Linked DNA regions of Homo sapiens: all the other regions are linked to region 3. Evidence: promoter capture Hi-C in 16 types of primary human blood cells and fetal thymus (Javierre and others, 2016). All regions are on one chromosome and are shown on one strand. The core of a region is centred on a gene start or on the middle of the fragment in contact, and the rest is flanking DNA. Distances in the headings are between cores, read along the strand shown.

Region 1 (4,574 bases), core at 1,778-4,277, 640 kb after region 3:
TGTTGAAAGGCATGTGTTTTATTTACTGCCATTTTGAATGTTTAAAACCTGAGAGTACTAAATGGGAAATTCAGCGCCCGTCTGCCAGGCTGGACCAGCAATCAATCTTAAAGCATTAATCAGGGGAGGCTATGGCAGTGAACGTTATCACCTTGCTGAGAAAGAAATCCCTTTGAAGGCAATGATGACTTGGCAGGCAGGGGTCTTCCCAGAAGTGTGGACTGCAAAGCATCTGGGAACCAAACAAATGACGGCACCCTCTCCAGATGTGCAGAATGGCCGCTTTCTTTGGAAAAAGAAATTTCTAATCTCATTTATTCTCCTCCACCACTATGCATTCCTCCCAAGCCTCCAACCCCTCCAGAAAAATGTTCCTCCCGAGTTCCCAACCCCTCCAAAAAAATGTCCACCAAGTTTCCTCTGCTAACACTTGAGAGCAGAAGTGGGAGTCAACCAAGCTGATAAACCATCAGGCTTAAATATGCTTTTCAGAGAAAATCTTCTTACTCCTTTCCTCTAGGGGGACCCTTATCTAGACTTTTAAGGAATTTGATTTGATTAAAATATGATTAAAGCAAGATAAATCTATGGCAGGCAGCATAGTTTTCTATCACCACAAAATTAATGGTGAAAAAAATTCCAGCCATGTTGTAAATTCATTAGAATAAATTAATAGTTCCATCGATGTACTCAAAATTAAAATGTGGTTGTCATAAATGTAATTAAGTAATTCAGTGGAAAGATTAAATGCTGAAACAATTACCCACATAGTTTAAAGCATTATAAAAATATGAGAAAGAAAAATGGAAGCTGTTATTAATAGAACATGGGGATTTTCATGTCTTTGGCTTTTTTTCTCATTCCCTCGTAATGAAAAGAAAGAGAAAATAATATTTATGAAATGCCTTATATGGGACAATAAGTACTTACTACCTATTATTCCACTTGATTACCATAACAATCTTGCAAGTCCAGTTTACAGATAAGGCAAAGGTCACTGAAGTTTGGAAGTGCCAGGTAATTTGCCCAAGACCACATAGCTGACCAGTGGCCAAGTTAGCATTCCAGTTAAGGTCTGTCCAACTCCAAAATAACATGCTCTTTCATCTGTGCCACTCGGCCTCTCACCTCAACCTTCTGTTCCACATGCTTCTCTGTAGAAGCACAGACTGTAGCCCTAGCCACTCCTGTGCTCCCTTCAATCCTGTTCCAGCCTAGAGTCATCAAGGAAGGTAGATTCCTCTCTCTGGCCCCATGACTATAACCTTGACTTCTATTTAATGTTTAATGTACAAGGGTCAAGGAACAGTAATGTAAAAAATAATGATATTAAAATAAAACAGGAGGCAAGCAATGTGATTGGGCTCTCTCACTCTCAATCTCTCTCTCTCTGTCTCGGAGCCTACAGATATCTAATATAAGTCCCTTGTGGTGAGAAGGTACCAGGAGGGCTGCTAACAGTAAATTGGGAGTGGGTGTGGCAAAATGCAAAAGAAAGAAAACTGCTAAAAAAGACTGGCCATATGTAGCAAATTATAAGTTATCTGGCTGCAAATATAATTTCTGCACCCAGGGCCAGTTGGGGAACACACCTCAGACACACTATAAGAACCCCTGGGTAAGACTCAGTGAAGGTCCCAACAGGGCAACCAAACAAAACCATTCTAAGGTGTGGATCTTCTCCAGGATTGATGCCACTGTGAACAGTGGGTCTAGAGGCTGACAAACTGGTGTTAACAGAGGTAATGATGTTACATATTTTGGGGCTCCCTCATAACAGGCCGTTCAGCTTCGGCCTGTAAAAAGTTAACATCCTGGCATGATCCAAACGTTGGAGATTTCTGAAAATGTACAGAAAGGTTCCATTCACCTAAAGTTATCGTTACTAAAGACCACAAACCAAGAAACAAAGGAACTTCCTGCACTCTCAGTAACAAGACCACCTTATGTAAGAACACACACCATCCACATCCCACCCCCAAGAATGCTTTCTGCAAAAGTGGAAGAAGCTGGGAAGTGTGTGCTGTGGCTTCAAAGTCCCTTCTCCACAAACTGCTTTCTTCGTTATCCTGAAACAGCCTGAAATTCACACATCACACTCCCCTTTGGAATAACACCCCCAAAGGATCCTGTTAGGGTGTAAACTTTATCTTGAAGAATTAAACCAAAAAGCTAATACTATCTATGAACATCACAGGGTCAAAAAGGTTATTGGAATAGCTCTTGTTATTAAAAAAGGAAGAGACCCAGAGATTCCTGGGACTCCAGTAAGAGACCATTACTACCCCGAGAACACACCAGTTCTAGCAAAGCCCTACTGTCTTCATACTAGCGGGGCTCACCAGAGAAAACATAAATCACGTGAAACCCAGCACAACAGCAGATACCACTCTTTATAACCAAACACCTGTTTCCACCACTTACCAGTACCTCTTGTAGTTTTATCTAGTTAACTCCAGACATACACTTCCTTCCTTTCTGCCTTTCTCTCCCAGGTTTGCAGTTAAGTGTCAACAGGGCAGGGGAGGGGGTCGGGCGCGGTGGCTCACGCCTGTAATCCCAGCACTTTGGGAGGCCGAGGTAGGCGGATCAGTTGAAGCCAAGAGTCAAGACCAGCCTGGTCAACATGGTGAAACCTCGTCTCTACTAGAAATACAAAAATTACCTGGGCGGTGGCACACACCTAATCCCAGCTACTCAAGAGGCTGAGGTACGAGAATCACTTGAACCCAGGAGGCAGAAATTGCAGTGAGCTGAGATCGCACCACTGCACACCATCCTGGGTGACAGAATGAGGTGTGTCTCTAAATCAATCAATCAAACAATCAATCAATCAATAAAACAGGAAAGGAGGGAGTGGAACCGGTTCCACTAGGGCTAGCCTCTAAAAGGAAGGGGGCTTTATTCTTAGCATGTATGACAAGGACTTCCCTGTCAGGTGCTCCCGGCACCCTGGCCCCTCAAGCTGCAAAGGTTTCAGAAAATCAAACATGACTTATCTTCTCCAAGTCTGCAGACCTTAGATATATATCCAATACAACACAGGATTTGTTTTGACATTAAGTGATTTTTCAGTAGTGTTTCTGTTAGGTGAAGTGAGCTTTTGCTGAATTTGTGCTTCTGCAGGCTTTCACTATTTTTTGACACATGGATGAAGATACTCCCAAACTTTCACTTCCCTGGAGACTGGGACACCCACAAGGCTCCACCACAGAAACCAAGTCAGCCCAGGCTCTTACCTCCAAGTGGTTTCTGCCCTTTTGAGATTTTATTCTATATTTTAGGGTATCATAACTTGGTAAAATATTTTAAATTCTTTTTTAAATTAGGCAGTGTAAAAGCCATGAAATAAATGATAACTGGGGAGGTTATAAACCACATTTCTCTACAGGTAGAACATGCCACAAGTATGGTGTAGTGAAAGGGGGCTGGGAAGGGAGCCAGGGGGTCAGAGGCCAGGTGACCTCCCGGTGTGGGAGGATCGGCTGGGTGGTGCCGAGACATTCAATCCCTCAGGGCCTGCGTCTTATGCCTCTGTAGTGAAGAGAGGAGTGGGGAGTTCTCTGAGGACTATTCCAGACACCTGGTTCTATAATTGGAAGGATTTATTAAAGGGCATCTTTCTACTTCTTCTCTTCAGAAATCCTTTTCATCTAAGGTATGTGTCTCAAATGAGTAGCAGAGGCAAGACGTGATGACATCAGGAAAGACTGTGCAAGTAGGGCTGTGCAGACGTCAGGAGCACCACAAAACGTCGAGGCAGTTTCTGACTTAAAATCCCAGCACTTTGGGAGGCCAAGGCAGGCAGATCTCGAGGTCAGGAAATCGAGACCATCCTGGCTAATGTGGTGAAACCCCATCTCTACTAAAAACACAAAAAATTAGCTGGGCATGGTGGCGGGCGCCTGTAGTCCCAGCTACTCTGGAGGCTGAGGCAGGAGAATGGCGTGAACCCGGGAGGTGGAGCTTGCAGTGAGCCGAGATCACGCCACTGCACTCCAGCCTGGGCGACAGAGTGAGACTCCGTCTCAAAAATAAATAAATAAATAAATAAATAAATAAATAAATTCTTCACACTGAAATCGAACTGACCATCAGAAAAGGTGCTATGTCCATGCACCTACAATCATCTCCTTTTCTCCCCCTCTTTGCAATCATTGCCCTTAGTACAAGTTGATGGTGGGTGTGCTGCTACATGTGGATACGGCTGATTGGCCTGGTAATGAATGAGCTTGGTGGCTTTGCCCATGCTGGGAAAAATGCTGAAAACACTGAACAACCAAGGCAGGGCTTTAGCCGATCAGATGGACACCCAATCAGCAGCACAGTTGCAGGCTGGGATGCCACATGCCTGGGCCGTACCCCATCTCACATTCCTCTTCCCAGGGGAAGGAGGACACAGAGATATCATTGGGTGGTGCTGGCCCTGGTGACACCAGCACATTTTAGTGACAGAATCTACTTGCAAAAACTGCTATAACCCACAAGACAGTCGACTCGAATAAGGAGACAATATGTTTATAAAATATGGACTGTATCTATTTATCTATCTTCTATTTTAATATTACAAGAAC
Region 2 (4,178 bases), core at 410-2,909, 540 kb after region 3:
TCTTCTAAGAATCCTACTTACATCATGAAACTAATTTAATTATTCCCGCTTCTCTCTCCCTCCCCACCTCTCCAGGCTCAGTCTGAGTTCTATCTCCTCCCTGAACTGTTGCGCAGTGGCCCCAGTCCCTAGAGACCTTTGCTCTTCAATGCTGCCATACCAGGGCTAATATTCATGGGGTACAGATTGTCCACTCCCACAGTGTGTTCTGATGGGATTGGCATCCATCGCAATCCAGTCTGATGCCTGTGCAGTACTGGCTGTTAGAAATTTTGACAGATATTTTGACTGTCTTCCTTGTCTACAGCATCTATTGTCTGGATCACTCATCTTGGTATAAACTACACAGCCTTGCTATTTAAATATTCCCAATGTGCATATGTTTTTACTTTCCTACCAGATTGTGATTCATTCTCTGAGGGCAGCCATTCTTGCACCCAATCCCCAGGAAGGAGCCCAGAAGCACGTGCCAAGCTGGTCCCTCCAACACTGGCTAGAGGAATCAATGGATGGAGTAAATAACTAATTTACAATAAAAATTTAAACACTGCACTTACTTCCCATCATCCAGCCTACAAATTTTAGAGCCTCCTGCCTTGCCTTAGTGTACCCACCTCCAACACACTCCACCTGTCTTCTGCCCTCTCCCTCTTACTGTTTATTATTCCCTGAATGTGCACGCCCCGCCTGGCTGTCTCCCTCACACACTGAAAATGAAGTCCCTCTGGATGCTGCCCAGTGACAGTCCCTCCTCCCCTCTGTGTGCTCTGGACTTCCTACACTGAAACTTGAAAGTTATTTCTGAGAGACTTTAAATTTCCACTCAAGATTCCAACAAGTCAGAGTGTTCTGGGCAAAGCATGGATGCCAAGGAAGATACCCCAGTTTCATGGCTGACAAGCTTTATTGACGACTTATTTTAACTCTAGCTGAAGAAGACCATGAAACTAACCACCCCGTTTAAAACTGAAAACACACTCTCCTTGCTCGCAGCCCTCCCAATCTTCTTCAATCTGTTCTGTTTCTATATCACTCATCTCCTTCTAATAGCTTATGATTTACATATTTAATCTGTTCACTGTTCATGTCCCTGAACTAAAACATGAGCTCCACAAGGGCAGAGATTTTTTAAATTGTGGTGAAATACACATAATATGAAATTTACTATTTTAACCATTTTTAAGTGTACAATTCAGTGGCATTGAGTACATTCACACTGTTGTGCAACCATCACCACTATACGTCTCCAGAACTCTTCATCTTCTCAAACTGAAGCTCTGTACCCGGTAAACACTAACTCCCCACTTCCCCTTTTTGCCAGCCCCTGGCAACCACTCTTCTACTTTCTCTATGAATTTGACTGGTCTAGGTACCTCATATAAGCAGAACCATATATTTGTCTTTTTGTAACTGGGTTATTTCACTTAACATAATGTCATCAAGGTTCAGCCATGTTATAGCATATGTCATAATTTCCTTCCTTCTGAAGACTTAATAATATTCCATGTGTGGTAAATGCATATAGGCTACATCTTATTTATCTATTCACCTGTTGACGGGTACTTGCATTGCTTCTACCTTTTGGTTAATGCTGCTATGAACATGAGTCTACAAATATCTCTTCAAGATCCTGCTTTCCATTCCTTTGGGTATATTTCCAGAAATGGAATCATTGGATCATATGGTAATTATATTTTTAATTTTCTGAGGATCTACCATACTGTTTCCCATAGTACCTGTGCCATTTTACATTCCCACCAACAGTGCACAAGCGTTTCAATTTCTCCACATCCTTGTCAACACTTGTTACTTTCTGAAATGGCAGGGATTTCTGTCTATTCTATTTGCTGGTGTATGCTAAGCATGAAGAACAGGGCTTGACATGAAGTCAGCACCTGATAAGTATTCATAGAATTCAACTGTAGAACTGGTGTTGACAAGTGGCCCAGGATGGCCGGGGTTTGAACCTTGGCTTACACACTCAGACACTCCACATGGACACATTATTTGGCCTCCCTGAAGTTCAGGTTGTCATTCATCTGCAACAGCACCTATCTTGAAGGGTGTTGTCAAAGCCCAATAAGATGAGAGATGTAAAGCTCCCTGCCCACTGTGTCTGATACAGGACTCTCTTGCACATTTCCTTCCTTCCACACTGATTCTCTTGAACAGCACATTAAGCTGACTTGGAAAAAGACTATCAGTAATCAAGTTTGGTTAGAGAGAAGTCATTGTCTTTTTTGGTTAAGTTTCATTTGATCACCTCTTGATTTGTGAATCTAAGAGAAATCCCATCGACCCACAACCTCCTACACTGCCTTTTTTCTTCTTCGTAGCACATATCATTACTTGAAAGTATATGCAATGTCTATTATTTTTATCTGTTTATCCATTTTCTCTACCGGAACACAAGCTTCAGGTAGGAAAGGTCTTTGTTTTTCTTGACTACTGCCACATCTACAAGGCCCAGAACAATGCCTGCAACATAAAAAGTCTCAAGAAATATTTGTTAAATGAAGAATTCATTTAAACAGTTACTAATCACCTGTACAGGTATAGGCACTATGCTTACTACTGGGCATCCTATATAAATAAAATACAATTCCTGCCCTCAAGGATCTCACAGTTTAATTAAAAGATGATTATAAACAAATTATTAAATATAGTTTGAGATGCACAGTAAAGGAGCAGGTAAAAAATTATACAAAGAAAAAAGGTATTAAGTCTATCTGGAGGATGTTGTCAAAGAAGGCTTTCATAGGAAAGTGTCCCTTATGAATATTTTGAAGATTAACTAGGGTTGTTTCAGTAGGAAAAGAAGGAAAGGGCATTGTCAATTTAAGTGATAGTTAAGGTCACAAAGACAAGACACATAAGGCTTTATTGTGGAAACAACAAGTAATTTTGTGTAACTAGATATAAAGCTAAAGGGACAGTGTGATGCAACAGGAGCCCAGAGCCCAGAGGGGGCATAAATCATGGAGGCTTATTCAAGCATCATGCTTAGACTTGATGCTATAGATGATCAGAGCCACCAAAAGGCAACACACAAATAGATATTTATTTTAAGGAATCTATATGGCCCTGGTATGGCTGGAGGCCAGTTGGGAACCCCAGAGCTTCCTGGAGGACACCCACCATGGGGATTGGACCAAGCATTCCATTTTCATTCTCTGGGGGCTACAATGGGCTGCTAGACTGGCAGCTGGGTGCTGGACTCAAATTTGAGTCTTCTCATCTTCAAACTCTTCATCTTCTCAAACTGAAACAGCAAATTCTGAGAGTCTGAATCTCTGTTCTGACACTTTAAAGAACACTTTTTCAGGGTCCTAGTCACTGGGGTTTTAGAGCGGCTGCTTGAGTTAGGGTAGTTATATAGAATGTGGAATAAATAGCCATTGGACCTTTGGCTTTAACATTACACATTTCAAATTCTGTTTTATCTATAGAACTAACCTGGCCTATACTTGTGTTGACCCACTAGTAAAAAAGAGAATGTCTATTAAGCTTGGGCCAATTTATACTCTTTGAATGAATGTGTTCTGTATGGTGGGAGGAGAAAGATTTGGCCATACATTGCTACATCCCATGTTGCCTATGGACAAGAGTGTTCCTGACTGTATTCCTTTCCTAGGGCTACCATAACAAAGCACCATACATTGAGCAGCTTAAAACAGAATCATATTCTCTCACAATTCTGGAGGCTAGAGGTGTAAAATTGAGGTGTCAGCAGGGACATGTTCCCCCCTAAACCTGCGGGTGAGTGTCCTTCCTTGCTGCTCTCCTAGCTACTGGTGATTCACTGGCAATTTCTGGCATTCTTTGGCTTGTAACTGCATTAATGCCAGTCTCTGCCTTAGTTGTCACGTGGCATTCTCCTCATGTGTCTCTGTCTTCACAAAGCCACCTTCTTATAAAGACACCAGTCATATTGGGTTAGGGGCTACTCTGGTCTGAATGTTTGTGTCCCCTCAAAACTCATATGTTGAAATCCTAACCTCCAAGTTGATGGTATTAGGAGGTGGTGACTTTTGAGAAGCCATGAGGGAGGAGCCCTCATGAATGGGATTAGAACCTTTATAAAAGAGACCCCGTAGAGCTAGTTTGCCCCTTCCCCTATGTGAGGACACAGTCAGAAGGCACCATCAGTGGACCAGGAAATGGGCCCTCACTAGACA
Region 3 (4,558 bases), core at 793-3,292:
ATAATGCACTTGATTCTGAAAGAATGATTAGAGTTCCTACTCTGAAAATCTAATTGTCTTGATGTGACGAAGTGAGAAGAAAGGATGATTTTTCTAATGAAAAGCATGTATACGGGTAGCCCTTTGCGAGATTCTGTCAAAACCCTGAATTTTGCATTAGCTGTTTTACCACCCAAACGTTTTTACCGAGGATGTGCAGCAATGGGAACTCTCATACACTGCTTGTGGGAATATAAATCAGTATAACCACTTTGGAAAACCATTTAACATTGTCAACTACAGCTCTACACACAAGTACTAGAACCAGCCATTCCACTCCAGGGTATACACCCTAGAGATATGAGTGCCCATGTCTACCAAAAGCCGCCTAAAGGAATGCTCTGAGAAGTGTAACTTGTAATAGTTGCAAACTGGAAACAACCCAAATGTCCATCCACAGTAGAGATACATAGTATGGATACTCATACAATTAAACAGAAGCAGCAATGAAAAAACTAACCAACCAACCAAACAACTGCTACAACATGAATGAATTTCACAACAAGGATGAATCTTTCAGAGTGAAAGAAGCCAGACACAAAGGGTACACTCTTATTCAAACAGGCAAAACTAATCTCTGGTGACAGAGGTCAGCATAGAGGTTCCTGGGGCTATCTAGGAACAGGCATGAGGCGTTATTGGAAACAGTCTACATCTTGAACTGGGGGATGGTTACTAGGGTGGTGTATACGTATGAAAAGTTCAGTGAGTTGCATACTTAAAATCCGTACACTTTATGTATGTTTTATTTTTAGAGGCAAAAAATATTATTGACAGCCTGTCATGTAAACATTTTCAATAACCATCATAAAACTCTAAATTCCTGGGAAAGAATATTGTTATCAGAGTATATTTACTGCCACAAACACTGCATTTGCTGAGCTAAAGTCAAAACTTAATACAGGGAACAGGAGATGTTCCTTTTTTCCAATGTTACATATATAAAAAGACCAAACCTTTCTGGCTTGCACTCCCTAGGCCAAATTCCTTTAACTGTGTCATTTAATCGGTCCTTCCTTGTGTGGCACTGGCTGTCCACTGTCCCAAGCCCTCGCATGTCCTGGATGGCCGGTCATCATCCACACGGGGGCTGAAAGGCCCGGCTCCAGCACTCCTGTGGTCATCATCCTGCTGAATCGCTTTGAACTACCCTTGGCCTAACCGCGACTCCCATCCCGCTTCCCTCCTGCCTCGCCACTGCAGGCCTGTCCCTTTGCTTTCTTAAAACTGCGCACCGTCTGAGGCCACTTCGAGCCTACTGGATCCCTGGTTCCAACCCAGTAGGATCACAGAAGCAGGGCCAGCTGCCAGGTAGGGGACACCAAGGGCAGAAACCTCCGGGGCCCGCAGCGCACCGGTGACCGCGAACCCGCGTGGCTCCCCTCAGGCTGAGTCGGCTTCCACCCTCCCACCCGAGCCACCGGGGATCAGGGCCCGGGAAACACGCTCGGTCCTTTTCGGCGCTTCCGGGTTTGAAAACCGCGGCTTGCTATGACGTGTGACCAAAATGCGGGGCCAGCTGTCCCAGAGAGAATCCCATCCCGCGCCGGGCCGGGTAGTGGGAGCCACCGGGGTGGGGGGCGGCGCGCCCGGGGTCGCGGGCCGCTCCGCCAGTTCTTGGGCCGACCCCGCCGCCCGGGCGCGCGTGTTTACCTGAAACCAGGAACACGTGCTGCCGGGCGCCAACCCCGTCCCCGCAGTCCACGCCAGCGGCCATGCCGCCCGCCTCTTCCGGGGCGCCGCAGGCTCAGCGCCGCGGGCCTCAGTCTCCCAGCCCCGCCGAAAATGGCGGGAGAAGGGTCTGTTCCGGGTGGCGCGGCGCGCTGAGGGACCGGCAGCGCCCGGGAGGAGGCCCAGGGACCGAATTTCGTTTCGTTTCCGAGACCAGCCTGCTGCTCGTGTTACGTTTTTAAATTTAGCGCCAGGCGAGGGGCTCTGAATGCCGGCCGGTGGCCGCAGGCAACGGGAAGGGGCCGCGGCCTCTCCCTCGCGGCTCCGCTAGTGGTAGGTGCTCATCGCGCGCCGCAGGGCGCCGAGTGACGCGGAGCGGGGCGGGGTCGCCGGGGCCCCGCGCTCTGTGGCTGCACCCAGCGGCCCTCCATGGTCTAGCCAGCGGGCTAGGATTGGGTCTGCGGGGTGTGTGCCCGGACAACGGGTGACGCCCGCCACACCCCCGGGGCCGGGGGACTCACCTGGAGCTAGTCCGTGTTAAGGACAATAGCAGTCACATCGGAATCCGAATGCAACTCTTAGCCATGGTCCTCAATTATTTGTGAATATATATTGGTCATCAGTTGCATTCTGTGTTGCTATTGATGTGAGAATATGTGTGCATTGTGAGCTACAAGGGATGTCCTCAATTTGGACTCCGTCCTCATCACTAAAAGAGGTGCACAGTTTTGGGCTCAGAATATGAATTTGTTGTTTTGGAGAACGCTGTATACTGAGTTAAAAACTTAGACATTTATTTAAAAAGTGATGTTTAAAAAGTTAGAGCCATGAAATTTGGGGATTTAAACTTTTAAAAATAACATTTTAATTGAAAAGTGTTGTTTGGTACATGGTTTTTAAGAAGAAAGTACATATTCCTTTCATACTTTAGAGAAAAGCACGGGCCAGGCGCAGTGGCTCAGGCCTGTAATCCCAGCACTTTGGGAGGCCGAGGCGGGCGGATCGCCTGAGGTCAGGAGCTGGAGACCAGCCTGACCAACAAGGTGAAACTCCGTCTCTACTGAAAATACAAAAATTAGCTGGGTGTGGTGGTGCACATCTGTAATCCCAGCTACTACGGAGGCTGAGGCACAAGAATCACTTGAACCCAGGAGATGGAGGTTGCAGTGAACCGAGATCCCACCACTGCACTCTGGCCTGGGCTACAGAGCTGGACTCTGTCAAAAAAAACAAAAACAAAAAAATCCACAAAAACCTATTTTTTTTTTTTTTAAAGAAAAGCATGATGTATCTCTTTTATCCCAGATCCCAGGGGTAACTGTTAACATTTCTTCTCTATTCTTGCAGAATTTTTCCATGCAAAAACAAGTTAATGTCTTATTTTTGCACAATTGAAAGAATAATATACATAACTCATGCACTTTGCTTTTCATGTTTAATCTTGAAGATAGTTAAATTTAGCAGCACTAAATTTATCTCGGCCCTCTGAAAAGGTTTTTAACTTCAAACCTGTTTCCCATGGGGTGAGACCAATACAGCTGCAGTTGATTGCAGGACACAGCTGGTGGAGAAGAGGCCTTTCTGGCTGAGGAAAGGCGCCTCTTGCCAGTTTTGGGGCAAGGAGCAGCAGATTGGTACTGCTCTGATCTTCCCTCTCCCCCAAAACGACTGTAGAAGATGCTGTGGTGTATAGCACAAATCCCCAGGCACACCATCGTCTTACTAACAGCTACAGGAGCACCCCATTATTCCTGTAGGATGGGATCCAAAACCCCCAGTGAAGGCCTAAAACCGCAAATAGTACCAAACCCTAATATACTGTTTTTTCCTTTGCATGTATATCTGTGATAAAGTTTAATTTGAAAATTAGGCCCAGTAAGAGATGAACAACAATAATAATAAAATAGAACAATTCTCACAGTATGCCAGCATCACTACTCTTGCAGCTACTAAGTGACTCATAAGGAGGGGACCTTCTGCAGTGTGGATCCGCTGGACAAAGGTAGAATTCAGGTCCTTTGCAGGACGAAGCTGGATGGTGCAAGATTTCTTCACACCACTCAGAACACTGTACAATTTAAAACTTACGAATTGTTTCTGGAATTTTTCGTGTAATATTTTTGGACCAAGTTCGACTGGGGGTAACTGACACCTTGGAAAGCGAAACTTCGAATAGGGGGAGCTACTGTACATGAGAAATGTTACCCATGATTCCCTTGCTCAGACATACATACCTGTTTCATTTTTCTCTGATCCTTTCTAGCCCTTGGCTGTATTAATGTATATTTTTGTGGTTGTTGTCACAATTTAGACTGTTTTGTCTGCTTTTCTCACTTAACATTGTCATAAGCATGTGCCCCTTCATATCGAGAAGTATCATTGTTAATGAAGGCATGATATTTAACACAGCTGGTGTACTAGGGTTAGTTATCCATTCCCTAGTGTGCAGTATTTAGGTTATTTCAAACTGTTATTATAAATAATGCTACCATGTGTATTGTATATGGGCTATGTATACAGCAGTTTGACACAGTGATTGGTGTACATATACAAACAGATGCTTTGTATCTAAAGAAAAAAATTTAGATGCAGGAAATTATTTTTAGCAGAATACCATGTAGGTAAATTTAAAAGGCACAAAGAACAACACGATGTAATTTACAAGGATACATGCATATTTAAGGCCATGTCAAGCACATAAAGAAATGGGTGTCTTTACATACATGTGGCCAACAAACATATGAAAAAAGTTCAACATCACTGATCATTAGAGAAATGGAAATCAAAACCACAATGATATACCATCTCATGGCAGTCAAAATGGTGGTTATTAAAAAGTCAAGAAACA

Evidence for each region. The method cuts DNA at HindIII sites, captures the fragments that hold promoters and counts their contacts. A CHiCAGO score of 5 or more calls a contact.
Region 1: a contact is called between a fragment that was not itself captured here and the fragment with the promoter of RNASEH2B in region 3, in 1 of 17 cell types (fetal thymus). The highest score is 5.2, in fetal thymus.
Region 2: a fragment that was not itself captured here is called in contact with the fragment with the promoter of RNASEH2B in region 3 in 1 of 17 cell types (activated CD4 T cells); the score reaches 6.0 in activated CD4 T cells.

What each region holds. Positions count from the first base shown.
Region 1 is chr13:50,264,615-50,269,188 of GRCh38, reverse strand. The region is part of intron 2 of DLEU1 (deleted in lymphocytic leukemia 1); the gene reads right to left. Among named protein-coding and RNA genes, the nearest start is that of DLEU2, 140 kb to the right of the region's middle. The HindIII fragment of the contact is 9,440 bases long and covers 1-4,574 here.
Region 2 is chr13:50,367,623-50,371,800 of GRCh38, reverse strand. All of the region lies in intron 2 of DLEU1 (deleted in lymphocytic leukemia 1), which reads right to left. Among named protein-coding and RNA genes, the nearest start is that of DLEU1-AS1, 160 kb to the left of the region's middle. The HindIII fragment of the contact is 1,512 bases long and covers 904-2,415 here.
Region 3 is chr13:50,907,275-50,911,832 of GRCh38, reverse strand. It overlaps RNASEH2B (ribonuclease H2 subunit B), which reads right to left and starts at 2,042. Exons shown (of 11, transcript NM_024570.4): 1 at 1,693-2,042. The coding sequence starts at 1,756. It overlaps RNASEH2B-AS1 (RNASEH2B antisense RNA 1), which reads left to right and starts at 1,121. Exons shown (of 3, transcript NR_046552.1): 1 at 1,121-1,350. RefSeq lists silencers at 1,288-1,337, 1,548-1,787, 1,798-2,227. The HindIII fragment of the contact is 8,311 bases long and covers 1-4,558 here.